Regions from separate parts of the Homo sapiens genome. Here all the other regions are linked to region 1. Evidence: promoter capture Hi-C in human tissues and cell types (Jung and others, 2019). All regions are on one chromosome and are shown on one strand. Each heading gives the region's core, a stretch centred on a gene start or on the middle of the fragment in contact. The rest is flanking DNA. Distances are from core to core; before and after follow the strand shown. Region 1 holds the start of EMP3 (epithelial membrane protein 3 (MAM blood group)). Region 2 overlaps NUP62 (nucleoporin 62). Region 3 holds the start of NOSIP (nitric oxide synthase interacting protein). Region 4 overlaps ZC3H4 (zinc finger CCCH-type containing 4). Region 5 holds the start of BBC3 (BCL2 binding component 3).

What was found. Contacts are between HindIII fragments. The study calls those that stand out against the background at their distance.
Region 2: a fragment that was not itself captured here is called in contact with the fragment with the promoter of EMP3 in region 1 in 1 of the 25 tissues and cell types used here (aorta).
Region 3: a contact is called between the fragment with the promoter of NOSIP here and the fragment with the promoter of EMP3 in region 1, in 1 of the 25 tissues and cell types used here (spleen).
Region 4: a fragment that was not itself captured here is called in contact with the fragment with the promoter of EMP3 in region 1 in 1 of the 25 tissues and cell types used here (dorsolateral prefrontal cortex).
Region 5: the fragment with the promoter of BBC3 here is called in contact with the fragment with the promoter of EMP3 in region 1 in 1 of the 25 tissues and cell types used here (adrenal gland).

Annotation. Positions count from the first base shown.
Region 1 is chr19:48,322,049-48,326,801 of GRCh38, forward strand. EMP3 (epithelial membrane protein 3 (MAM blood group)) reads left to right here and starts at 3,504. Exons shown (of 5, transcript NM_001425.3): 1 at 3,504-3,562. LOC124904735 (a long non-coding RNA gene) reads left to right here. Exons shown (of 2, transcript XR_007067284.1): 2 at 742-1,474. RefSeq lists enhancers at 1-78, 298-357, 3,328-3,377, 3,978-4,027, 4,318-4,387 and 1 more and silencers at 1-187, 2,519-2,750. The HindIII fragment of the contact is 22,631 bases long and covers 1-4,753 here.
Region 2 is chr19:49,912,340-49,917,770 of GRCh38, forward strand. The region is part of intron 2 of NUP62 (nucleoporin 62); the gene reads right to left. It also overlaps a transcript of IL4I1 not described here. Among named protein-coding and RNA genes, the nearest start is that of ATF5, 14 kb to the right of the region's middle. RefSeq lists an enhancer at 81-932. The HindIII fragment of the contact is 9,177 bases long and covers 1-5,431 here.
Region 3 is chr19:49,578,256-49,583,686 of GRCh38, forward strand. It overlaps NOSIP (nitric oxide synthase interacting protein), which reads right to left and starts at 2,301. Exons shown (of 9, transcript NM_001270960.2): 1 at 2,260-2,301. PRRG2 (proline rich and Gla domain 2) reads left to right here and starts at 3,061. Exons shown (of 7, transcript NM_000951.3): 1 at 3,061-3,226; 2 at 4,952-5,049; 3 at 5,287-5,431. The coding sequence starts at 4,965. The HindIII fragment of the contact is 33,716 bases long and covers 1-5,431 here.
Region 4 is chr19:47,100,376-47,105,806 of GRCh38, forward strand. All of the region lies in intron 2 of ZC3H4 (zinc finger CCCH-type containing 4), which reads right to left. Among named protein-coding and RNA genes, the nearest start is that of ZC3H4, 11 kb to the right of the region's middle. The HindIII fragment of the contact is 3,344 bases long and covers 965-4,308 here.
Region 5 is chr19:47,227,850-47,233,280 of GRCh38, forward strand. BBC3 (BCL2 binding component 3) reads right to left here and starts at 3,350. Exons shown (of 4, transcript NM_014417.5): 1 at 3,080-3,350; 2 at 309-597. The coding sequence starts at 582. RefSeq lists enhancers at 1-175, 3,738-3,857, 4,567-5,190, 4,617-4,886 and silencers at 208-647, 2,508-3,227, 3,368-3,597. The HindIII fragment of the contact is 48,720 bases long and covers 1-5,431 here.

The DNA of each region.
Region 1 (4,753 bases), core at 2,254-4,753:
TGTAAGGCACGCCCCCTCCGCGGCGGCGGCTGCTGCCCACGTGGGCCTCCCCGGGCGGGCGGGCAGTGGGCGCCTCTCCCTGCAGGCTGGGTGTGCCCGAAGCCTGCGGTTTCCTGTGGGAGGAAGCGGCCTGCGTACGCTCAGCTCAGCTCATAATCTCGGAGGCCCAGGATGGGGAGATCCCGCCGCCACCCTCAGATCCTTTGATTCTTCCCCTTCTACATAGCCATAGTGCGGGGACCCCCCTAATATCCCCAGGGTACCCAAGCCTGGCGCCGATCCCACTCAGGGAACTTGATTCTGAGTCCTAGACTCGTGTTTTTCACCTCCCCGGCTCAAGTTTCCATCTTCCTAGCCCCTGGCTCCCCCTAGTCCTCTCAAGAAAGTGGAGCCCTCTTTTCCTGCTCCCCAAGAGGAACGTATGTCTCCCCAGCCCCTAATTTTTCCTTCAGTGACCCAGACTTTGCAACTTCCTTAGGGATCTGAGTGCGGACCCCAGTTTCTGTCTCTCAGGCACTTAAGTTTGAGACTACTTATTCTCCCCCAGGGACCCTCATTTTGGATTCCCAACTTTAGCCTTGAGACCCAATGGACCCAAGAATTTGCCCCTTCCCCAACTCCTAGAGATCCTGAATCAGGGTCCCCCAGTACTGACTCCACTCAGAGCCCCAATGCCTGATATGACTAGCACTACCCTAAGAACTGCCCTATAATGTATTTACTATTATCTCTATTTTTCAGATGAAGAGACTGAGGCATAGAGAAGTTATTAGTAACTTGCCAAAAATTACACAGCCATTGAGTAAAACAGCTTGGATTTTGAGTCCAACCAGTGTGGCTCTAGAGTCTGTGCTATACTGGTATTCCAGCTTCCAGGTCTTGGGGTACCCAGCCAAGCACTGAACTGTCCATCCCTCACCCCCTCAGGGAGCCCGAATCACCAACAGCTATCCCAAACCCAGCTCTGGCCCATCAGATACCCAGACATCCCATCATCCAGTTCCCTTCCCTGGATCCAGGATTTGAATTCCCCTGCTCTCAATTTATCAGAGTTCTGGGCACCTGGTCCCCTCCCAAGAGACTCGTGTACATAGTAGTCATCACCCCGACCCTAATTTAATATCCCCAAAATTAATAATAATAGTTAACAGTAAACCTTTGGGGCCAGGCACAGTGTCTTACGCCTGTAATCCCATCATTTTGGGAGGCCAAGGCAGGCAGATCACTGGAGGTCAGGAGTTCGAGGCCAGCCTGGCCAACATGGAGAAACCCCCGTCTCTACTAAAAATACAAAAATTGGCTGGGCGTGGTGGCGGGCACCTGTAATCCCAGCTACTCAGGAGGCTGAGGCAGGAGAATCGCTTGAACCGGGAGGTGGAGGTTGCAGTGAGCTGAGATCATGCCACTGCACTCCAGCCTGGATGACAGAGCAAGACTCCATCTCAAAAAAAAAATAAAAATCTTTGGTACTACACTCTGTTAAAACCTAATGGCTTTCCACTGCACTTAGAATGAAATCCAAGCCCCTCCCCTAGTCTTCAAGGGCACCCTTTGATTTCCCTTCTCACCACTCCCTCTGTCTCCCTGTGCTCCAGCCACACTGGCCCTTCTGTCTGCTCCCTAAACAACCTGAGCTTGTTCTCAAAAGCTTTAAGAGCTTTTGCACTTCCTCTCCCCCCGACGCCCCCCCACCACTCCCCAACCCCAGCGTTCAAATGACTCCTGTCTTCAGCTCAAATGTTACCTCCTCCAAGAGGCCTTCCCTGATTTTCCTGTTTCAAGTAGTCTTCCCTGCACTCTGTCATTATCTCCATCACTCTGTTTGATTTATTATTGTATTTATTTTTCTTTTCTTCTTTTATTTTTTTTTTTCTTTAAGATGGAGTCTTGCTCTGTCACCCAGGATGGAGTGCAGTAGCGTGATTTCAGCTTACTGCAACCTCCGCCTCCCGGGTTCAAGCAATTCTCCTGTCTCAGCCTCCTGAGTAGCTGGGTTACAGGCGCCCACTACCATGCCTGGCTAATTTTTGTATTTTTAGTAGAGACAGGGTTTCACCATGTTGGCCAGGCTGGTCTTGAACTCTCGACCTCAGGTGATCCTCCAGCCTTGGCCTCCCAAAGTGCTGAGATTACAGGCATGAGCCACCACGTCCAGCCTATTGTATTTATTTTTCAAGTCACTTATCCTTATCTGAGATTTATCTTCATCATTGATGTTTTCTCTTGTCTGTCTTCCTCTACTAGAATACAAGCTCCATAATACCAGCAGGGCTCATGTCTGTTTTCATTATTAACTCCCAGATCAGAGTACATGTTCAATAAATGTTTGATGAAGGAAGGAACAGGTTAGGTGTGTGAGTGTGCCAGTATTACCTTATTCATTCAGCATAAGTATCAGAATTATTATTATCAGTATTAGTATTTTGTCAGCATTATTATACTCTCAACATAGACTAAGATACTGGAGCCCAGGTGGGTGAAATAATTGGCTCAAGGTCACTGAACCAGGAAATGATGGCGCTGGGATTCTTAGCTTCCGCTTCCTCCCCGCTTCCAGAGTTTCACAAGGTTTTTTTTTTTGTTTGTTTGTTTTTTGTTTTGTTTTGTTTTTTTTTTGCGACAGAATCTCACTTTGTCCCCCAGGTTGGAAGGCAGTGGTGCAAACTCAACTCACTGCAGCCTCCACCTCTCGCGTTCAAGCGATTCTCATGGCTCAGCCTCCCAAGTAGCTGGGATTACAGTCGCCCGCCACCACGCCCGGCTAATTTTTGTATTTTTGATAGAGACGGGTTTCCACCATGTTGGCCAGGCTGGTCTCGAACTCCTGACCTCAGATGATCTGCCCGTCTCGGCCTCCCAAAGTGCTGGGATTACAGGCGTGAGCCACAACGCCCTGCCGAGTTTCACAAATTTCATCTCCCATCCTCTGACCCCCCACCACGGGGCCAACTTCACCAGCCCAATCTCAAGTCCATGCCACAGAAATCTGGCCTCTTTTCCCAGACTCCTATCCAGCTCCAAGCTCCATCAGGGAAAGCAGACATCCGGCCCCAGGGCAAGACCTCAAAACTCAAGGGTCCTGAGAATCGGGCCCTCCCACCCCTGACGCTTGCCCCCCCCAAGAACCCCATTCCAAGAGTTTCTCATCTCAACCCTGGGAGGGAGCCCCAGATGATGTCTGTCTGGAGGGATTGGGTGGGGGCCCAAAGAAAGAGGAACCGGAGTGCCTGGGCCCTCCCACTGGCAGCCGACCTCAGCTGGGTGCGGTGAGGGTGGGTTTATAAAAGGGTCAGTATATATTGAGAGGAGGAGAGAAAGAGAAACGGGAGCAAGAGAGAAGGAGGCCCAGACAGTGAGGGCAGGAGGGAGAGAAGAGACGCAGAAGGAGAGCGAGCGAGAGAGAAAGGGTTCTGGATTGGAGGGGAGAGCAAGGGAGGGAGGAAGGCGGTGAGAGAGGCGGGGGCCTCGGGAGGGTGAAAGGAGGGAGGAGAAGGGCGGGGCACGGAGGCCCGAGCGAGGGACAAGACTCCGACTCCAGCTCTGACTTTTTTCGCGGCTCTCGGTAAGTTTCCAGTCCGTTATTCAGGGCTGGGACTTCTTAATTTACTTGGGAATGTAGCAGTTTGGGAAGGACACCCCCAGGCTGGGAGAGACGTCCCTGACTCTTGGAAATCCTTTTAATTTAATAAGTGATCTCTTAGCACTTGAGGTGGGGATATGGGAAGGGGTGGGGCCCGGCAAAGTTTTGGGGTCCCAGCAGAGCCCTCCACTGGAAAACTTCCTGCAGTTTTTCCCTCAGCGGTGTCCACTGTCCTCTGGGGTCCCTGAGATCAGGGCATTGCATGAGAACACCCCAAATCTGGGAGACCTCTAGGTCCCCTGTTCCTGGGCACCAAAGAGTCCTGGGAGGCTAACTCCTTCTTGGGCCTCTCTTCCCCCCAGCGCGAATCCTATCCATTTCCTCCAGAAGATGTCCAACAGTCACCAGTCTGGCAGCAGGGTGGGGTGAGGACCTCGTGGACATAGCCAGGGGCTGGGGTTTCCCTGGTGCTTAGAGATGGGGGGGGGTGGGGATGAGTCACCAGATGACTCACCAGGTCCCCCTCCTCCCCTCAACCCAGGAGAGGAGTGGTGTGAGTCAAGAATGCCTGTTGCTGGGGGCAGCTCCTCAATCCTGATGTCGGGGTGCAGGGTGGGGTCTCAACTTGAATTTTCACTATCTGGCCTGTATGTAACCCAGAGTCAGGGTTCTGGGGAGAGAGGAGCCACATTGCTAGTCCTCCTCATTCAAGGAACCCAAGAGTCCATCTTTGGCCCTCTCCACCCCTCCAGCCAATGGGGATCTCAGGAATCCAGGCCCCAGCGGTCTCCTCCCTGAGAGACCCAGGAGTCTGCACCCATGCCCTTCCTCCATCAGGAGACATCTCACCTGCCTTTATGCCAAATTTTTTTTTTTTTTTGAGACGGAGTCTTTCTCTGTCACCCAGGCTGGAGTGCAATGGCATGATCTTGGCTCATTGCAACCTTTGCCTCCTGGATTCCAGTGATTCTCCTGCCTCAGCCTCCCGAGTAGCTGGGATTACAGGTGTGCACCACCACACCCAGCTAATTTTGTATTTTTAGTAGAGATGGGGTTTCACCATGTTGGCCAGGCTGGTCTCGATCTCCTGACCTCAGGTGATCCTCCCGCCTCGGCCTCCCAAAGTGCTGGGGTTATAGGCGTGAGTGTGCCTGGCCTGTGCCAACCTCTTGA
Region 2 (5,431 bases), core at 2,529-5,028, 1.6 Mb after region 1:
TGTATTTTTAGTAGAGATGGGGTTTCTCCATGTTGGCCAGGCTGGTCTTGAACTCCTGACCTCAGGTGATCCGCTTGCCTCGGCCTCCCAAAGTGTTGGGATTACAGGCATGAGCCACTGCGCCCGGCCAACAGTTCACCATTTATTAAGTGCCACATTGGTTTCCAATACTCAGGTGCCAGGGATCTATTCACAATGGTGAACCCATACTGATCCAGCCCTGATCCACGCAGTTTAGATATGGCCAGGTGAGGTGGCTCACGCCTGTAATCCCAGCACTTTGGGAGGCTGAGGTGGGGGGATCGCTTGAGCCCAGGAACTCGAGAACAGCCTGGCCAACATAGCGAGATGCTGTCTCTACACAAAAAACACAAAAATGAGTTGGCCGTGGTGGCAGGCGCCTGTAGTCGCAGCTACCTGGGAGGCTGAGATGGGAGGATCACTGGAGCCCAGGGAGGTGGAGGCTGCAGTGAGCTGTGATTGTGCCACTCACTCCAGCCTGGGCAACAGAGTGAGACCCCATCTAAAAAAGAAAGAAAGGAGACCTACCATTACTCACCGTTTCCTCAAAGCAAACTTTGGGGCAGATCCACTTGACAAATGAGGAAAGTGAAGCCCAGAGTGGCTGGTTAAGCCACGGTCCCTGCCCTCAAGGCAGCCAGAGTCAAATGTCAGCTCTACAACCAGGGCTCAGGGCAGGCACAGGGCCGGGCCACATGCTGTGGGAGCAGGTTCCAGGGAGAAGCTGAGCGTTGCAGATGCAGCATCAGCCAGGGAAAGGATGGCGGGGGAGAGGCGCCGTCCACGCGGGAGGAAAGGCCTGTGTGAAGACAGGGAGGCCCACACAGCAGACATGCCTCTGGGTGCTAAGTGATCTGGTGCTTCTGAAGGGAGATGTTTATGTGTGAAGGAGTGACTTGGCAAGCCTGGGCTGTTCAAATCTGCACATTCCAAAGAGAGAAAATGGCCCTTGACCAGCTCCAGGAGAATCTCTATGTTCTTGAAATGTGCTGCCAGATAAGAGCGCCTTTGTTTACCTGGGGCCCCAGGCCACTCTAGAGAGTCCATGTTGACGCTGTGACCTAGAGTGGGGGCTTTGGGTCATACAGTATCAGCACGACCTCTGGAGGGGCTGGAGTCAGCAGACCTCAGTTCAGCCACACGGGTGCGCCATGTCCTCCCCACAACCCGGGCCGCCACTGCTCCGTAAGCGTTACCACACGCTGTTGCAGGGAGAACTGAGCACTGTCCGCGGGACTCTCTCTACCTGCAGAGGAGAGCTGGAAGCTCGTGCCTGGTCTCCCTTGGGGCTTTTGCATCTCTCCCCTTTGCTGTTTTCAGTCTGTATCATTTCTCCATAATAAACCGTGACCGTGACTGTGAGTAGAAAGCTTTGCTGAGCTCTGTGAGTCTTAGCTCATCACTGAGCCGCAGGGTGGTCTTGGGGACTGTGGGCCACGTGACAGGCGGGAGAATCTGGCAGACCCATACATACCATGCTAACGGTTCGGGCGTTATATTGAGGGAGCCACAGGCGGACTTTATGGGTGTGGGGGATGAACCGTAGGGGTAGAGGCTGGAGGCCAGGTGGCTTAGAGAAGACTGGGAGAAGGTCCAGGCCAAGAGCCTGAGGCCCGAACTGGAACTCAGAGAGGACAGCATCACAATTTGAGCAAAGTGTTAAATTTGCACCAAAACCACAGGGTCTGTCCAGGTTAACAGTGACAGGCCAGGCATGATGGCTCACACCTGTAATCCCAGTACTTTCGGAGGCCAAGGCAGGAGGATTGCTTAAGCCCAGGAGTTTGAGGCAAAAAACAAAAAACAAAAAGCCACAAATACTAGAACTTGGGAAGTTTCTCACAAATGCAAACTATTACGAGCTCTGATCCCGGAATTACCACATTTGCCAAAGGGGAGAGTTTCCTTACCAAAGAAGCTGATGGTGCTGGTGGCGGTGGAGGAAGCAGGGAGGAACCCAAACTGAGGGAGTGTTGCATTTCCAGGGAAAGGAGGAGGGTATGCCTGGGCCTGTGCTCAGGGCTGGGTGGCTGTGACCATCTGTAGTTCACCCAGGCAGGACACAGCTCCAGAGAAGCGCTGCCTTGAGGTCACCAAGGAAAGTGCTGGCAGAGCCGCCAGTCCCTTCCCTTCCTGCCTGCCTGCCCCAACATTTACCCTTGAGTTTCAAACAACACGGCCGCCTTCACAGCCCTGGGAACCCGGAGGAAGACCCGCTTGGGATTCAGATGCGGAATCATCTGAATTCAGGTGGGCATATCCCACCCCCATCTGTGAGAACCAGGGTTCTTTGCTGTCACCCCAGCCTTCGGTCAGCTCTACTACCTTACCTCCATCTGTGATTCTTGTGCCACTCCAAGTCCCAGTTTTTTTTTTTTTTTTTTTTTTTTTTTTTTTGAGATGGAGTCTTGCTCTGCCACCCAGGCTGGAGTGTGGTGGTGCGATCTTGGCTCACTACAACCTCCGCCTCCCGGGTTCAAGCAATTCTCCCACCTCAGCCTCCCGAGTAGCTGGGATTACAGGCGTGCACCACCATGCCCAGCTAATTTTTGTATTTTTAGTAGAGACGGGGTTTCACCATGTTAGCCGGGCTGGTCTTGAACTCCTGACCTCAGGTGATCTGCCCACCTTGGCCTCCTAAAGTGCTGTGATTACAGGAGTGAGCCACTGTGCCCGGCCCCCAACCCCTTTCCTTAGATGCCTGGGACAGGAGTCTGTGCCTGGGAAAGAATACAGGAGACCTCAGCTTTGGACCAAAAGGAAAGGAAGAATTAGGAAGGATGTGTGCTATGTGTGTGGGGGGGTAGACAGAAAAACGGCCCCCAAACATGCCCACACTCTGATCCAGGACCCTGTCAATGTGACCTTACATGGCAAAGGGACTTTGCAGATGTGATGAAGATAAAGAGGTTACCCTGGCTTATCCACGTGAGCCCCAGGTGACCACAGGGGTTCTTCAGGGAGGCAGGAGTCAGAGGGAGATGTGCCTATGGAAGAATGGACTGAGAGACACTGTGCTGCTGGCTTTGAAGATGAGGGGGCCACAAGCCAAGGAACACAGGCGGCTTCGGCCTCTAGAGCTAAAGAAGGACATAGCCTCTCCCCTAGAGTTTCCCAGAGGAACTACACACCATGCACCCATTTAGACTCTGGACCCCCAGCACTGTGAAAATACATTCGTGTTGCTTTAAACCACTACATTTGTGATGACTTGTTACAGCAGCCACTAGAAACCAATGGCGGTAGGTTGAGGGACGATGGAGAAAGAACAGAATGAAATCTAGATAGGTGGATGGGAATACACAGAGCAGAGCTGGGGTTGAGAAAGGGGCTGGGGTCAGGGGCAGGTCTGCCCTTGTGCATGGAGACCAAGGCGGCTGGTACAGAAAGGAAAGTGAGGTGTGATTCTGAAAATCCAGACATCCCCTGGTGCTGGGGCAACCCTGCCAGGACTGTGGATGTGTGTGGGTGGATTGCCACTGACACCCAGCCACGATAGGCCATCTATGATGGGAGGGAAGGACAAGGTTGCCTCCGAACACAGAGGAAGGCTAACGGTGGGGATGGTGTCGGCTCCACTGGGCCAGATTTCCGTTTGTTCCCTGCTGTATTCGCAGCACCTGCAGCAGTGCCTGGTACACAGTAGGGACTCAGTAACAACCATTTACTAGGGACCTACTGTGTAACCGGCACCGTGCCAGAGCACTGCACTGCAGCACACCGAGCCCTTCCTGGGTGGGAAACAAGTGCAGACTCCCCAAGGCCACCCAGCAAACAGCAGACCCATGATGGGAAACCAGAGCTTTCCAGGGCCAAGTCTTGACATTCTGCCTGGGACGGGAGAGTTTCATTGAGGAAAAGATGTTAGAATTAAGTGTTGGCCAAGTGTGGTGGCTCACATCTGTAATCTCAGCACTTTGGGAGGCTGAGGTGGGTGGATCACCTGAGGTCAGGAGTTCGAGACTAGCCTGGCCAACATGGTGTATCTTTTGTATTTTTTTTTTTTTTTTTGAGACGGAGTCTCGCTCTGTCGCCCAGGCTGGAGTGCAGTGGCGGGATCTTGGCTCACTGCAAGCTCCGCCTCCCGGTATCTTTTGTATTTTTGTATCTCTACTAAAAATACAAAAATTAGGCCAGGCGCGGTGGCTCACGCCTGTAATCCCAGCACTTTGGAAGGCCGAGGCGGGCGGATCACTAGGTCAGGAGATCCAGACCATGGTGAAACCCCGTCTGCACTAAAAATACAAAAAAAAATTAGCCAGGCGTGGTGGTGGGTGCCCGTAGTCCCAGCTACTCGGGAGGCTGAGGCAGGAGAATGGCATCAACCCGGGAGGCGGAGCTTGCAGTAAGCCGAGATCACACCACTGCACTCCAGCCTGGGAGACAGAGCGAGACTCCGTCTCAAAAACAAAAAAACAAAAATTAGCCTGGCATGGTGGCGTGTGCCTGTGATCCCAGATAGAGGTGGGAGGATGACTTGAGCCCAGGAGTTTGAGGCTGCAGTGAGCTGTGATCATGCCACCATACTTCAGCCTGGGCGGCTGAGCGAGACCCCGTCTCAAACAAATAAAAAAGTTCTGGGAGGCACTTGAACAAAGGCCCATGGCATTCGGCTGACAGCCACCTGGTGGCACTGCTGACAACGCAGAGCCCAGATGCAAGACGGACAGGGTGCGGAGCTGTCTCCGTGGGACCTCCCCTTTCCCCATGGAATTCGTTATTTCAGATTTGGGGGAAGTATGACCGGTGGAACCAGAGAGACCAGAACAGGGCAGAAAAGAGCAGAGAGTGAGGGAGTGGAGAGGAGAGAAACAAGGGGAGATCAGAGATGGGCTGGGCTCAGCCCAGGGAAATTTGATTCCTGCTGAGGCTCAGACGCCGTCCTCCAACACTGCCTTCCCTCACTTGCCCTCCCGTGGGAACCTCTGGCCAGGACCATCTCCATGAGTGCTAGTGCTGGGATTCTCCGTCTGCAAACTCCACAAGTCTAACTACTCTGCTTCTTAACCGTCTCCTGAATCAGTTCCTCTTTCCTTTGCGTCAAAGAAAATCCCCCTAAACCTTGAATAACAGATCAGCTCCAAGTCTGCCCTTCAAGAACTGAAGTCAACTGACCAACACCTTCCTAAGTGGACCTTAGCCAAGGCAGATGCTCAAGCGGTCCAGGCCAAATGGCCAGACCAGAGTGCCTTGGGAGCATGAGACCATGAGTGGGTCAGGGTCTGGGTTATGTTGGGAAAGACTCACCGAGACTCTGTGTGGGAGGAGTGAGGAGACTGTTGCAGTCGCCTGGCGGGAGCTGGCGGTGGCCTGGGCTTTCCTGTCCTGCTCTCTTACATAACTACCCTGCCTGGGGTATGGCCAACCCCATTGGTAGAAAACAGAGTGGGCCAGGGATGGTGGCTCGCGC
Region 3 (5,431 bases), core at 1,051-3,550, 1.3 Mb after region 1:
TGGGATTATAGGTGCCAGCCACCATGACCAGCCAATTTTTGTATTTTTAGTAGAGATGAGGTTTTACCATGTTGGCCAGGCTGGTTTCGAACTCCTGACCTCAGATGATCCACCTGCCTTCACCTCCCAAAGTGCAAGGATTACAGGCATGAGCCACTGTGCCTGCCCAATGGGGATTTTTAAAACAGGTAGCTGGCAGGATTTGAGTTTGGTCTGTAGAACATAATTAGCTGATCCCTGGCATGAGGAAACAAGTAAAATGAGGCCGGGCTCAATGGCTCACACCTGTAATCTAAGCACAGCACTTTGGGAGGCCAAGGCAGGAGGATCGCTTAAGCCCAGGAGTTTGAGACCAGCCTGGGCAACATAGTGACACCTTGTCTCTATCTATTTTTTCTTTTTTTTTTTTGAGACAGAGTCTCACTCTGTCGCCCAGGCTAGAGTGCAGTGGCGTGATCTCGGCTCACTGCAAGCTCTGCCTCCCGGGTTCACGCAATTCTCCTGCCTCAGCCTCCTGAGTAGCTGGGACTACAGGTGCCTGCCATCATGCCCGGCTAAGGGGTTTCACCGTGTTAGCCAGGATGGTCTTGATCTCCTGATCTCATGATCCGCCCGCCTTGGCCTCCCAAAGTGCTGGGATTACAGGCATGAGCCACTGTGTCTGGCCTATTTTTAAATACTTAAAAAAAAAAAGAAAGAAAACAGAAGCAGGTAAAATGAGACCACAAAAAAGCAAACGGGACAAATTCAGATGGTGGGATGATCAACTGAACTAGAATTAGTTTCTTCAATGAATCGATTACACCAAGAAATAACCAAAGTGGAGTGGAAGGGGGAACAGTTCTAAATTAAGAGAGATGTAAAAGACGATAGCAATTACTTAACTATATCCTGATTCCAACAAACCCACAGTTACACTGGACTTGACTCTGCACCACGTAATGGATAGTAGTCTAGAATTACGGTTGTTCTTTTAAAGTGTGATGATGGTATTGTGGTCATATCAGCAATGTTTCTGGTTTTTACACACGCACCCTGTTAGATAAAATTTATAGAAGGTCATTGGTTTGGATTGAGCTCCTGCACTAGGTTCAACAGACCAAACCAAAATGGAGACACTCATGCTAAAGTTCCATGCTTCCAAGCCAAAACTAAGTTGATATCTGATCTTCTGAGATATCAGGAGAGAGATAATAGCCAAATCCCCAAACAACCCAGTTTTAGCCCACCTGATAAAGGAAGTCCCCTCTACTTTAACCTTTAACTTAGAAATTTAATCAAGTTAATCAATTTAATCAACTAGCTTTTTGTTTTCCGTTTCTGATTTTCTCAGCCCTTTGTCTCTGAAAACAACCTCTGCTCAGCTCATCGGAACACTCACGCTATTTTCCATAATTAGATGTTGTTTGATTGTAGATTCACGAATAAATGCCAATTAAGATCTTCTCACTAAATGTGTTGCAATTTTGTCTTTTGACAATCCTTAAGTGTCATGATGCCTACGATTTGTTTTAATCTCTTTAAGTTTAAAAAAATACAGCAAGTATGGCAAAAATAATCATTGGTGATTTGGGTGACAGGAATTCCTGTATTCTTCTCTCACTTTTATATAAGTTTGAACATTTTCGTAAGAAAACATTAACATCAAACTGCCTCAAGGACCGTTCAAGCCCCAAGTTCACAGAATTAGCAGCACAATCAGAATGGGAATCCATGACTGCCTGACCCCGAAGCTCCACACAAGAAAACGTGAATCCCTGCACCAACCCCGAAAGGGAAGGGGCTGTCAAAAAGGTGAAGAGAAGGTGGCGATGGATGACTGCACAATCTAGTATCGCCCGCCGTCCCACCACAGTCTGAGAAACTGAGGCCAGGAAAGGAGTTCTCCCTCCTCAACTCCCACTCCTTAGACCCCCAGCAATCCCAGTCCACTCCTTCCCTTGGGACCACCAGCAAATAGCCATCATCTACAGCAGAACTGTAACTCTCAGGAGAACTGGCCGATGCTAGCTACCACTTGACTGAGTTTATAGTGAGAGAGAGAGACAAAGAGAGAGAGAACTGCCCGATGGACGGTTGGCCACCTCCAGCAGAGTGTAGTTCAGCTTCAAACTTGGGGCGCCCGGACAGCTGTATTAATAATGATTGACAGGGAATCGGGAATCCAAAATCTTGCCCCAGTCTCCCTCAAGACCCCAGGCCTCTAGCCCGCAGGAAAGCGATCCCAGCAACACTCTTCCTGCACCGCCTCGAACTCACCTCACTAACGACTCCCAGTCCCTCGGTCGCTTCTTCAACTGTGCCCCGACACCGGAAAGGAGCACTATTTTCCCCCTCCGCTCCGCCCACTTCCGCCCAGCAGAAGGCACCGGAAGTAGAGCTGCCCCTAGTTGCGGAAGTGCCTCGCCTGGCTTGCTCAAGTCCTCTCTTCTCTTTCTCTCTCCGGAAACGTGAGTAGCTAATCGAAAGTTCCGGATATTGAAACTGGTGGGAATATGGGGAACGCTTACTATGTACGAGGCATTTCCCAGGGAGATCGTTTTTTCCTGCTTGGTTCCCAGGTTTTGAGTCTCTCCAAGCCCAAATTTAAGGACTAATCACTTCCCCTAGAGATCGGGAAGCCCACTTTCCCAAATATATCATCCACTTTTCTTGCTGCATCTTAAAACAATTGAGAAGAGACAACTACGCTCCCATTTTACAGACAGAGCCATTGGGAAATTGAAAATCAAAGCCGTTCAAGTCGCTCTCAGGAAACAGGGATTTACTGCGGCACTGCCCAGCTGTCCCAGGGACTAAGGCATATCGTTCCCGCTAGTTTCTAGATACCTAGAGACCTAGATATTAATTTTTCTAGCTCGGACAGACGAACTCCCAGGGGAGAGCCAGAGCGGGTAGGGGTCGGGAGGGAGGAGGAGGGTCGAATCTAATCCCCCAGGTATCCCATGGTATTCGACACCTTGGCTTCCTCATGGAGCTCTGGCCTTTAAGTCCTTTATCCCAAGGTCCCTTTAAATACTTTGTCCCTTACCTGAGTCCCGCCCAGGGCAGGTAATGGCAAGTTCCGCCCACCTGCCAGAAACGGGGATCAGGCCTGGTTACCGGGAGTGGGGCGCCCCTCCTCCTTATCCCCTCCCCTCTTCCCTGTCCCCTTTCACAGCTGGCTGTAGCTGGCCAAGGAGTTCTCGATTAAAGAGGAAGGGGCAGTGCTCACATTTCTGGGCAGGTAAGTGAATGTCCCTGGAGGAAGAGCCTGGCTTGGGGACCCAGGCATCCTGGCTCCCCGCCCCTCCGAGACCCAGAAGTTTGGGGCTCCTAGGCCCAGGAGTCCAGGGCCCCTGCCCACTTAGGTCCCTAGACCCAATAATATAACTAATCCCCTGCCTCTGCCTCTCTCGTAATCTTTGTTGTCTGTGGGTGGATGTGACAATGAGCACAGAAAGAGGCACAAGTGGAAATTACCAGGAAGGGAAGACTCCAGATCACCAGTGGACATGTTTATAAGCATCTGTGTCAGGTGCTGTAGACACAGTGGGGAAAGAAAGATAAGCTGCCTGCTCCTTGCTTTCTTCTCTGGCGGACACTGCCTTCACTGAAATCCTGGCTCTCACACTTGCACACTGTGTGACCTTCGGCAAGCTATATTACCTCTCTGTGCCTCAGTTTCCTGTTCTCTATACTGGGGATAATAATAGGACTCCTGGTCGGGCGCAGTGGCTCACACCTGTAATCCCAGCACTTTGGGAGGCCGAGGCGGGTGGATCACTTGAGGTCAGGAGTTTGAGACCAGCCTGGCCAACATGGTGAAACCCCATCTCTACTAAAAATACAAAAAATTAGCCAGGCGTGGTGGTGCGCACCTGTAATCTCAACTACCCGGGAGGCTGAGTCAGGAGAATCGCTTGAACCCAGGAGGCAGAGGTCACAGTGAGCTGAGATAGCGCCACTGCACTCCAGCCTGGGTGACAGAGCGAGACTCTGTCTAAAAAAAAAAAAAAAAAAAAACTCCTGTGAAAAGTTTTGTTTTGTTTTGTTTTTGACATGGAATCTCGCTCTGTCACCCAGGCTGGAGTGCAGTGGCACAGTCTCGGCTCACTGCAACCTCTGTCTCCCCTTTCAAGTGATTATTCTGGCTCAGCCTCCCAAGTAGTTGGGATTACAGGCGCCCACAACCACGCCTGGCTAATTTTTGTATGACTCCTGTGAAAAGTAAAATGAGTTGAGGCCGGGCACAGTGGCTCACGCCTGTAATCCCAGCACCAGCACTTTGGGAGGCTGAGGCAGGCAGATCACTTGAGGTCAGGAATTCAAGACCAGCCTGGCCAACATGGTGAAACCCCATCTCTACTAAAAATATGAAAATTCACTTTGGGAGGCTGAGGCGGGCAGATCACGAGGTCAGGAGATCGAGACCATCCTGACTAACACAGTGAAACCCCATCTCTACTAAAAATACAAAAAAATTAGCCGGGCATGGTGGCCGGCACCTGTAGTCCCAGCTACTCGGGAGGCTGAGGCAGGAGAATGGCATGAACCTGGGGGGTGGAGTGTGCAGTGAGCGGAGATCACACCAATGCACTCTAGCCTGGGTGACAGAGCGAGACTCTGTCTCAAAAAAAAAAGAAAATTAGCGGGTGTGGTGGCGCATGCCTGTAATCCCAGCTACTTGGTAGGCTGAGGCACGAGAATCGCTTGAACCCAGGACACAGAGGTTGCAGTGAGCTGAGACTGTGCCACTGCACTCCAGCCTGGCTGACAGAGCGAGACTCCATGTCAAAAAAAAAAAAAAGTAAAATGAGTTTATATAGGTAAACAGTATCTGGCACAGAATACAGGCTGTGTAAGTGGCTGCTATTATTGCCATTCGTGGACCACAGAGGCCAGTCAGAGAGGCACTGCCTCATTACCCAGGGACTAAGGCCCTTGTCAGCTGTAACAAACCTGGTTCTAGGTGTCTGGAAAATATGAGGGGCCACCCCTCTCTGCTGCTGCTATATATGGCATTAACCACCTGCCTGGATACTTCACCCAGTGAGGAGACAGACCAAGGTGAGTGTTTGGGGGAAGTGGCATCCAGACACTTGGCGTTGGCCTCCCCCTGACTCAGGAATGTTTCTAGTCCTTCCTCTTCCAGGAGTCCAGGACCCAGCCCCTTCCTCCTTCAGACCCAGGAATCTGGATTCCCAGCCCCTGCTCCTTCCTCCAGGACCCCACTGCTTTCCATCCCCCTATGACTCCAGCCCTAGGGACCCTCCATTTTTCTGTCCCTCATGTCTTTGGGTCCAGAAGTCTTCCTGGGTCCCCCAGAGGCCCAGAGCTTCCTGAGTAGCCATACCCGGATTCCAAGAGCCAACCACTGGGACCTGGAGCTGCTCACACCAGGGAACCTGGAACGGGAGTGTCTGGAAGAGAGGTGTTCCTGGGAAGAGGC
Region 4 (5,431 bases), core at 1,387-3,886, 1.2 Mb before region 1:
TTCAGCATTCTCAGGTGTCATCATAGCCTGCTCTGTGACATCATGCCATTTCCATGGTAACGTGCCTACGCCACGGCAACCACCCAAGTGAGACACAAAACTGGCAAAGAGAAGTCCAGGCATCAGCATCTGTACCCTGTACCCTACACCCTCACTTCAACATAAGACAGTCTACCCACTGCTGGCATCTAGATACGAAGACACCTACTGGTGGATGTGACGATAGGAGAAATTGGAGCCATCTGAACCCAGCCTGGGTATTTGAGATATTAATTGTTAATCTTGTTAGAAATGAGTTTTGTAGAAAGGTTTTTTGTTTTGTTTTATTGTCTTTTCTTTTGAGACGGGGATCTTACTCTGTCGCCCAGGCTGGAGTGCAGTGGCGTGATTTCGGCTCACTGCAACCTTCGCCTCCTGGGTTCAAGTGATTCTCATTCCTCAGCCTCCTGAGTACTGGGATTACTGACACCTGCCACCGCGTCCAGATAATTTTTGTATTTTTAGTAGAAACAGGGTTTCGCCATGTTGGCCAGGCTGGTCTCGAACTCCTGACCTCAGGTGATCCGCCTGCCTCAGCCTCCCAAAGTGCTGGGATTACAGGTGTGAGCCAACACACGCGGCCTGTAGTTATGTTTTTAAATAATCATAAAGTTAGAGATTCATACTGAAGAATCTACAGGTATAGGCCAGACACAGTGGCTCATGCCTGTAATCCCAGCATTTTGGGAGGCCAACAGGCGGATCACTTGAGCCCTGGAATTTGAGACCAGCCTGGGCAACATGAGGAAACCCCATCTCTACAATAAATACAAAACTTAGCCTGGCAGCATGTGCTTGTAGTCCCAGCTACTCAAGAGGCTAAGGCGAGAGGATCGATTCAGCCAGGAGGTCGAGGCTGCAGTGAGCTATGATTGCACCACTGCCCTCCAGCCTGGGCAACAGAGTGAGACCCTGTCAGACTGCTTGAGCCCAGGAGTTAGAGACCAGCCTGGGCAACACAGTTAGACCCCGTCTCCACAAATAATTTAAAGACAGGGTCTCTCTATGTTGCCCAGGCTGGTCTTGAACTCTTGGACTAAAGCCTGCCTTGGCCTTCTCCTGCCTTGGCCTCCCAAAGTTCTGGGATTAGAGGCATGAGCCATTGCACCCAGCCTCTATAAATAACTAAAAAAAATTTTTTTTCCATAATAAAAAGTTAAGAAAGAAAAAAGTTCTGGCCAGGTACGGTGGCTCATGCCAGTAATCCCAGCACTTTGGGAGGCTGAGGCGGGCGGATCACTAGATCAGGAGTTCGAGACCAGCCTGACCAACGTGGAGAAACCCCATCTCTACTAAAAATACAAAAATTAGCTGGGCGTGGTGGCGCACGACTGTAATCCCAGCTACTCAGGAGGCTGAGGCAGGAGAATCACTTGAACCTGGGAGGCAGAGGTTGCAATGAGCGATCGCACCACTGCACTCCAGCCTGGGCAACAGAGCAAGACTCTGTCTCGAAAAAAAAAAAAAAAATTAGCCGGGCATGGTGGCACACGCCTGTAGTCCCAGCTACTTGGGAGACTGAGGCAGGAGAATTGCTTGAACCCATGAGGTGGAGGTTGCAGTAAGCTGAGACCATGCCATTGCACTCCAGCCTGGGTGACAGATTGAGACTTCGTCTCAAAAAAAAAGAAAAAGAAAACAAGAACTTCCAAGTGGGACAACTCAGCAATGTGAGGAGAGGCTGCAAGGTCCCCAAGCAGTTATTTAATAATTTCCCAGCAGAGAGCTGGAATCTGGGCTTGCAGGCCTCCACACTCCTCACCAAGGCCTAAACAGGCTCAGAGACAAGAAGGAATTTGCCCATGGGGTCACAGCAGGAAGAAGCAGAACTAGAAACTAAGTCCAGTACTTTTGGATGCAAAGACCAGCTCTTAACCTCTACAAATTATTTGACAACTACAAATTATGTCAAAAAGAGTAATTTGCTAAACAGGTCAACTGACAAAACAACGCCCACCCTGAAATGTATAATCGAGTAGGGAAAAATAAGATATACATACATAAAACAGACTTCATGAATCAGTATTCCAAGAAATGCCAGAATGAGGTACCAAGACTTTGGGCAAATTCCTTAAACACTCTGCACCCCAGTCTCCATAACTGTGCAGCACAGGCAACCATGGAGTCCCCAGGATGGTGTCATGGGAGAATCCCATGAGGCCATGTAACACAAGCACTTAGCAGGAACCTTGCCCAGAATAAATGCTTAGGAGTAAAACCTACCCAAACACAAAGACACAAGGCCGATACGGTCCTTCCAATATCAAGTGAAGGAAATGGTAGCATTTCAAAAACCTAACCAAAGACATCTGGATAGAGAATAAGGGCTCATGGAAAGACCGAAGGAATTCTGGCAAAAAAAAAAAAAAAATAGGACTCATCCCAACACAAAGAGAAAGCAATACAAAAATCCCAGGGAGTGAAATTCCAAAGTCCCCTAATATGAAACGAATGCCTTCGCCCCCAAGTGTGCAGTGTCCACTCTGGGGTTTGTCCAAGCATGCAAACCACTTAGGCAGAACATTTCTGTAAAGCTTCAAACAGGCTGACCGTGAAAAAACCCAGCCTGCTAAAAGGAAGCTTGTGGAGACAAAGATGCCATTTTTTTTGCCTGAGTATCTATTCTTCCACTCCCACGAGCTCTGAAAATTTGCATTCTTGAGCAAAGGTATCTATCCCTCAGATCCAAGTTACTCCTGGCAGATGAACCTCTGGAATTTGCTTCTCAGCAATGAAGAGTTTTCTAACCACCTTCTCATGCCAACTAAGCTTCAGATGGTTTAAAGCTGCAAAGATCATGGTTTTCATCAGAGGACCGATTTCTATCACTCCAGAGGAGAAAGTCTAATAATTTAACTTATGAACTAAGACTTCTCTTTGTTTATAATTATTTATTTATTTATTTCTACACAGGGTCTTGCTCTGTCACCCAGGCTGGAGTGCAGTGGTGTGATCATTGGTTCAATGCAGCCTTGATCTCCTGGGCTCAAGCAATCTTCCCACGTCAGCCTCCCAAGTAGATGGGACTACAAGCATGCACCACCATGCCCAGCTAATTTTTGTATTTTTTGTAGAGACAGGGTTTCAGGCCGGGCGCAGTGGCTCATACCTGTAATCTCATTACTTTGGGAGGACAAGGCAGGCAGATCACTTGAGATCAGGAGTTCGAGACCAGCCTGGCCAACATGGTAAAACCCTGTCTCCACTAAAAATATAAAAATCAGCCCGTTGGCCGGGCACAGTGGCTCATGCCTGTAATCCCAGCACTTTGGGAGGACGAGGCGGGCGGATCACGAGGTCAGGAGATTTAGACCATCTGGGCTAACATGGTGAAACCCCGTCTCTACTAAAAAAAAAAAAAAAAAAAAACTACAAAAAAATAAGCCAGGCGTGGTGGCAGGCGCCTGTAGTCCCAGCTACTCAGGAGGCTGAGGCAGGAGAATGGCATGAACCCGGGAGGCAGAGCTTGCAGTGAGCTGAAATCGTGCCACTGCACTCCGGCCTGGGTGAAAGAGCGAGACTCCGTCTTAAAAAATATGTAAAAATAAAAATAAACAAATAAATAAGAGATCTGGGCCTAAGATTCTTGAGATTTGTTCATATACCACCTAAAGAATTTCTTAGCCAGGCGCAGTGGCTCACGCCTGTAATCCCAGCACTTTGGGAGGCCAAGACAGGTGGATCACCTGAGGTCAGTAGTTCAAGACCAGCCTGGCCAACATGGTAAAACCCCATCTCTACTAAAAACACAAAAATTAGCTGGGTGTGGTGGCGCACACCTGTAATCCCAACTACTCAGGAGGCTGAGGCAGGAGAATCGCTTGAACCCAGGAGGCAGAGGTTGCAGTGAGCTGAGATCATGCCATTGCACTCCAGCCTACGTGACAGAGTAAGACTCTGTCTAAAATAATAATAATAATAATTTCTTAAAAAGAACTGATACAACCTATTCGTTAATTTCTAGTCACCTGTGGGTTCCTTAAGGGCAGACAAGAATGAGGTTCACAGTAACCCCACATTTCCAAGGGCCCAGCACAGGGCCAGGTACAGATTGGGTACATGCTCAGTGCATATTCTATATGAAGTATCAATCTCAGCTCTCATACCCTTTTGGTCAATTTCATCAATAGAAACAGTAACTAATTTCCAAGAAAACTTTTTCAGCAACCTGTATCACTTAAAACTTTGACACAAACTCATTCAAGTGTTTATCAAGGGTTTCCAAATAAGCTTGAAAGTGATGGATGCACAGACTGAACAGAGGAGACAGGCCCTGCCTCGGATGCAGCCCACCCGTGTGGCCCACAAGCTTCAGTTACTGTGACTGCTCTCGTTCCCCGTGGAGTGGCAGGGCCTGCCTGGAATCCCAAGGAAACCTAAGCCCTGGTGTCTGTTAGGAAAATGAGGAGGGCAATAATCCAAGCCACCTGCAACAGACTTTTGGCCAAGCGACACTAGCGTCTGGGCCCAGCTCCCTCGGTTAGGCCATAGCAGGGATGTAATGGCCATGATCCACTTCCACACGGGACCTCAAGAAGTCTCCAGTTACTTCTAATGAATGAAAATCCCTTCCATTTAAGAGGGTTTAAAAGCCTAGGCTTGGGCCTCTACATTCACTGAAAGGAGTGGAACGCAGGGAGAATGGAGCCACAGTGGACTGAGGAAACAGTTAACACCCCCACCCTCTCGAGGGCCAACTTTAAATGGAATATCTATATTCCCTCCTCATTCCTTCCCACCACAAAAAAAATGACAATGGCTGCTGTGCAGGCATACCAGACAGTGCATACCATATCACGTGGTGGGCAGCAACTTTCTACTCAACTCTGCTGCTGTAACGTAGAAGCAGCCACTGATGATATAAATGAATGAGTATGGCTGTGTGCCAATAAACTTTACCTACTGGCCAGGCGCGGTGGCTCATACCTGTAATCCTATCACTTTGGGAGGCCAAGGAGGGTGGATCACTCGAGGTCACGAGTTCAAGACCAGCCTGGCCAACACGGTGAAACCCCATCTCTACTAAAAACACAGAAATTAGCTGAGCATGTGGTGTGCGCCTGTAATCCCAGCTACTCAGGAGGCTGAAGCAGGAGAATCCCTTGAACCAGGAGGCAGAGGTTGCAGTGAGCCAAGATCATGCCACCGCACTCCAGCCTGGGTGACAGAGCAAGATTCTGTCTCAAAACAACACAAACCAACAAAAAAACACTTTACCTACAAAAACAGGCTGGGTGGGCTGGCTTTGGCCCGAGAATCATAGTTTGCCGACCCCTAGCCTGGATGCAACGGCTTTCACACTTTTTGACACTGACCCACATCTGCTTCTTTGCATTTCTCCCAAACAAAAGTTTCCAGAAGCCACATTTAAATGCATTCTGCTTTTTCTCTC
Region 5 (5,431 bases), core at 2,100-4,599, 1.1 Mb before region 1:
TAGAGGACCCAGACTGGGGGAGGGGAGCTGGGATGCAGCTGTTGCCCCAGGCCCGGAAGAGACAGTGGGCTGCAATTCGGGGACTGCAGTCAGATTCCAGGAGGGACTTCCCACTTGACCTCCCCCTCCACCCCCAGCCTCCGTCTTCCTGCTTCTTGCAACACAAAGACCACATTGGCCACACCCTCCCAGTGGCCCGGCTGGGCCCGCCACCTCCCCCCGTCCTCTCCCACTTCTCCAGTTCCTCCGAGTCTCCAGCCCTCTCTCTTCCCGGCTCCTATCACCCCGGGGGCGGGGCGGGCACTCACCGTCCGGGCGCGGGCCTCGGGGCCGGCTGCGGGGACCCCCAGGCCAGCGGGAACCCCCCAGGGCGGCGGTGACGGCGGGTGGGGCGGTGGGGGCGCAGAGGTAGGCAGCGGGCAGCAGGGTGGGGGCGGCGGGGGCGGCAGCCAGGCCGGGCTCGCAGAGGCCGCAGGACACTGCCGAGGGCACCAGGCGGCCGAGCGGGAAGGGGCGCGGGCCGTCGCGGGCCAGGCCCTCTACGGGCTCCGGGGAGCTGCCCTCCTGGCGTGCGCGGGCCATGGCGCTCCCTGGGGCCTGCGGGACACGGGAGGAGGAGCAGGTCAGCAGGGAAGTACCAGGGCCCACTGTACCTCCAGCCTACCCGGGGTTAGGACCCAGATGGAGAAGAGTGGAGGTGTGTGTGCATGCGGAGGGGGTGACGGCCCCACAGAGACACGCCCAGCCGGGGGATGACACCACCGGGTCCTGGCTGGCCTGGAGAGCCTCCCGTGCATACGGTGATGGGCACACAGGAGGGACAGGGGGCACAGGACGGCTCTCACAGCAAGGACAGGGCTCACACAGGACGGATGGAGGGGTCTAGCAGGTGTGTGTATGAGGGCTGTGACAGTCCCACAACACAAACTCACTCCACTTGGGACTCACAGCATGGGCTGGTGGGGACAACTTTCCCAACACAGCGACGGGCACACAGGGAGGGCAGTGAGGCACAGCGAGGCCCCCACAGCACACACACAAGGACTCACACGGGACTGGCCAGCCTGACCGCCCACCCCACCTCCCACTTGCACACAAACACTGAGATGGCCCCAGTCTCGGACATCACTACTCAGTACACACAATACACACACACCCCCGACCAAAGCAGGAGCATCCAGACAGACCATCACAAGCACTCTACATACTGCGCACACTGGCTGGCACAATCCATCCCCACACATCCAAACTGTCAAAGTCTCACACACTGACCCACTGTTGATATGCCCAGGGGCACATGCAAACACAATGCAGCCTTTGCAAACACAAACACACACACACAAGCTAGGCACTGCCTCAGTTCCCAAACATGCCCCTCTCCACACACACACACTCACTCCAGAGATAAGACCTGCACACCTCTGGACTCACATATCAACACAAAACAGACACCCACGGACACACATACATCAACACCCCCAAAACACACCCACATGTCACCAACTCTCAGGACACACGTAGATCAGGCACACACAGACACATGCCATCAGACCTCAACACACCACCAGACACCAACCCACCCTCCTCACGCAACCCTCAAACATCATCACCAACTGTCAGCAACACACACACACACACACCCTACAGCTAACTCTAATCCCACACAGCCCAGCAGCACACACACCTAGCGCACCCACAGAAAACACTGGTCTCACGTGACTGACATAAACACTACACACACGCAGCCCACATGACACACATGAGCCAGCCGATCACAGTGACAAGCCCCTCAGACCCAACACACACACACACACACAGGCTCAGACACAACCCCATCCAGAGGCTGCCAGCAACACCCACCGTCTACACTGCATAGACCCCACAGATCCTGGGTCCTCAAATCCCAGACGCTGATGCCAGACACACAAGCCAAACCCAGACTGAAACAACCCCCCACCACACACATACATACACACACACACTCACACCTGACAACTCACACAGACACCTGGACAGAAAACAGACATTTGCATTTAGCAGGCGCAGCATCACAAACGCTGGGCAAAAGACACATGCCCCGGAGATACAGAGACGGCCTCAGCCAAGACAGAAACACACAGGCAAGACACAAGCACACATATCGCACGCTCGGGCAAGACACACACATAAACACACAAACAGCTCACTCCAGCAACACACACACACTACAACCTCCACACCCCAGCACACGCAGGCACCACAGACCCCCAGTATCATCCCGGAACAGCACACACAGACAACTCTCACCGACAACACACGCAGGTCCACCCACCCCACAAGCAGGGCACCCACAGACAGAACCCCACACAAACAGGCGCGGGGACTCACGCAGACACCCCGACGGGTCAGAAACCCCAACATTCCTCTGGATCGACACCACCACTCCCTGCAGAACCCAGCACAAACTCGGAGCCAGACACGCGCACACACCCAGGCGAGACACCTGCAGATCCACAACCCCGCACACGCGCGCTCCCACGGCGGTCCCAGACACCCCCCTCCGCTGTCACAGCCCCCCCCACCGCCGCCACGTGCGCCCGCCCCGCCCGCCAGGCGAGCGCGGGGCCAATAACCGGCTGTTGCTGGGGCGCAGCCCCCGCCCGCAGGAGCCGCAGACTCCACGGCCCGCGAGCCGCCCCCCGTCGCCGCCCCCAGCGGGCGCGCGCCCTGGGTGTGGCCGCCCCTCCGTGCCGCCCCCCCGCCCCTCCCGGACTTTGGGGGCTGGGGCACCCCTGGGGTCGACCCTCTTCCCCGGGGCCGCACTGGCCGCCAGGGGGCGCTGCCGAGCCCGCACCCCATTGTTTGTAAACAAACCCGCCAGACCGCCGAGGCACCTGTGCGCCCAGACCGGCGCCCCAACGCCGAGCCGCCTCTCACCCGGCGACCCTGGCCCAGGGTCCCTCGCGGGGTTTGGAGAGGCGCGGTGTGGGGAGGCAGGGCGCCCACACTGCTCTCCGCCTGCACTCCTGTCACCTCCTCCAGGGAGTCCACCCGGCCTGGCCGATCGCCGCCGGAGAGGATTCGGGGCGCGCACACTCACCCCGGGGGCATGAACACGCCGGAGGGGGCGGCGGTGGGGGGCGGGCGGCTTCCTTCAGGAGGGCGCGCCCGCCGAGCGCCGCTCTCCGCGGCGGCTGCTGCTGTGGCTGTCGCTGCTGCTGCCGCTCTAACTGCAGTGGCGGCTGCTGTGGCTGTGGCTGCTGCTGCTCCCCGGGCCGCAGGCGCGTCCGCGTCGTGGCCGCTGCTGGGATCGCTGGTGCCGCCGCCGCCGCCGCCAGGCGCCCGCTCGCATGTGGCTCGCGCCGCGTCTCAGGCCGCCCGGCGGATCCCGGGCCCGCTCCAAAGCCGCCCCGCCCCGCCCCGCCCCGCCCCCGCCCGGCGGGTCCCACGCCCCGCCCCCGCGTGACGCTACGGCCCCGCCCGCCCGCCGCGGACAAGTCAGGACTTGCAGGCGCGCGCCGCGCCCCCCCCTACCTCCGCGCCGGGGGTTTCCCTGCAGCGGGGGACGGGGCAGGGCCTAGCCCAAGGCAAGGAGGACCCAGGCGCTGTGCGGCGGGGTGTGGGGAGATCGCCCAGACACCGGGACAGTCGGACACACACACTGACTGGGACCCACAGATCCACACCCCCAGCGATGCGTACACAGACCGACCGACGGGCGTTCCAGGGTCCACAAAGTCACGTGCAGGCAGAGCCCAGAGGATGTACTCACAGACACAAGGCCACAGTCTCGCAAATCCACACCATGGACAGGGGCATGAGCACACACACTCACATACTGATGGGGCTCACACTTACACACACCCAGACGGAAATGCACAGACTCACTAACAGGGTCCCCTGGACAAGCAGACGGACACAATGACAGGGCCACACACAGTTGCAGAAACACCCACACTGATGATCACACCTGGGCCCACAAACTGTGTTCACAAACAACCCTACCGAACAGGCACCCACACCACACACACGGTGGTGCAACCACACAGACATAGGCGGAGTGCTTATCAGGAAACACAAACTTGCTGATAGGCACAGGGGACACACACATACACACAGACACCTGTTACAGGGATACCTGGATACACGGCCAAATCCAAATCACACTCCCACAGGGACATACACAAATGCACTCACACAATTTCACAGCTAACACATTAAAACTATCAGAAAGTGACATTCGCCCGACACGGTGGCTCATGCCTGTAATCCCAGCACTTTGGGAGGCCAAGGTGCGTGGACTGCCTGAGGTCAGGAATTCGAGACCAGCCTGACCAACATGATGAAACCCCATCTCTACTAAAAATACAAAATTAGCCGGGCGTTGTGGCGCATGCCTGTAATCCCAGCTACTTGGGAGGCTGAGGCAGGAGAACTGCTTGAACCCGGGAGGCGGAGGTTGCAGTGAGCCGAGATAGTGCCATTGCACTCTAGCCTGGGCAACAAGAGCAAACTCCGTCTTAAAAATAAAAATAAAGGAAAGAAACTGACATTCAGAGACACAAACCAAATCAGACATAGAAGAAACTGACCACCCACACATGTCACAAAGTCACACCTGTGACAGCTTCTTGCTAACTGGCCCACTGCACACACGTCGGAGCATGCACACCTGGCCACACTCACCACAAATCTGGCAGGGGACCCACGTCGTGGAAGCAGCCCTGGGCACCTGGCATGGACATGCCTGGGCAGACCCCATGCCAAATTTCATCCTGTCTCATAGCTTTCCATTCCGTTTCTTTTTCAGTTTCTCATTGTTACTTCCTGCCCTGCTCTGGTTTGGTGAGTTTTGTCCTTCCTTTTTCCAAAGCCGTGGATTCCTGTCTCCTCTACACTTTCCATCCTTACTGGGTCTCACCCAATCGCAATCGCCTCACCAGAGTGACTCACCTTCCAGTGCCTAGTGTGGGGCTGGCTGAGTAAGGATGTCAGACTTCTCAAACTTGACTGCCTCCAAGTACACACTCTTAGCTCCCCCAAGAGATGCAGGTAATCTATATCTCACGTGAAATCTCCCCATTTGCAACATTGGGAACTCCTCAGCTTTCCTCCCTCTTTCACTTTCCCTCCTCTTTCGCTTTCCCCGATTATTCATTGTCCCTTCCTTCTTCCTGGTGTTTTCCAAACTGTGGGTCATGAGTAAACCATGGATTATGACATATGACATCACTTACATGGATCTTACTTTTTTTTTTTTTTTTGAGACAGAGTCTCGCGCTGTCGCCCAGGCTGGAGTTCAGTGGCATGATCTCGGCTCATTGCCACCTCCGCCTCCTGGGTTCAAGCAAGTCTTCTGCCTCAGCCTCCCTAGTAGCTGGGACTACAGGTGTGCGCCACTATGCCCAGCTAATTTTTGTATTATTGGTAGAGATGCGGTTTCACCATATTG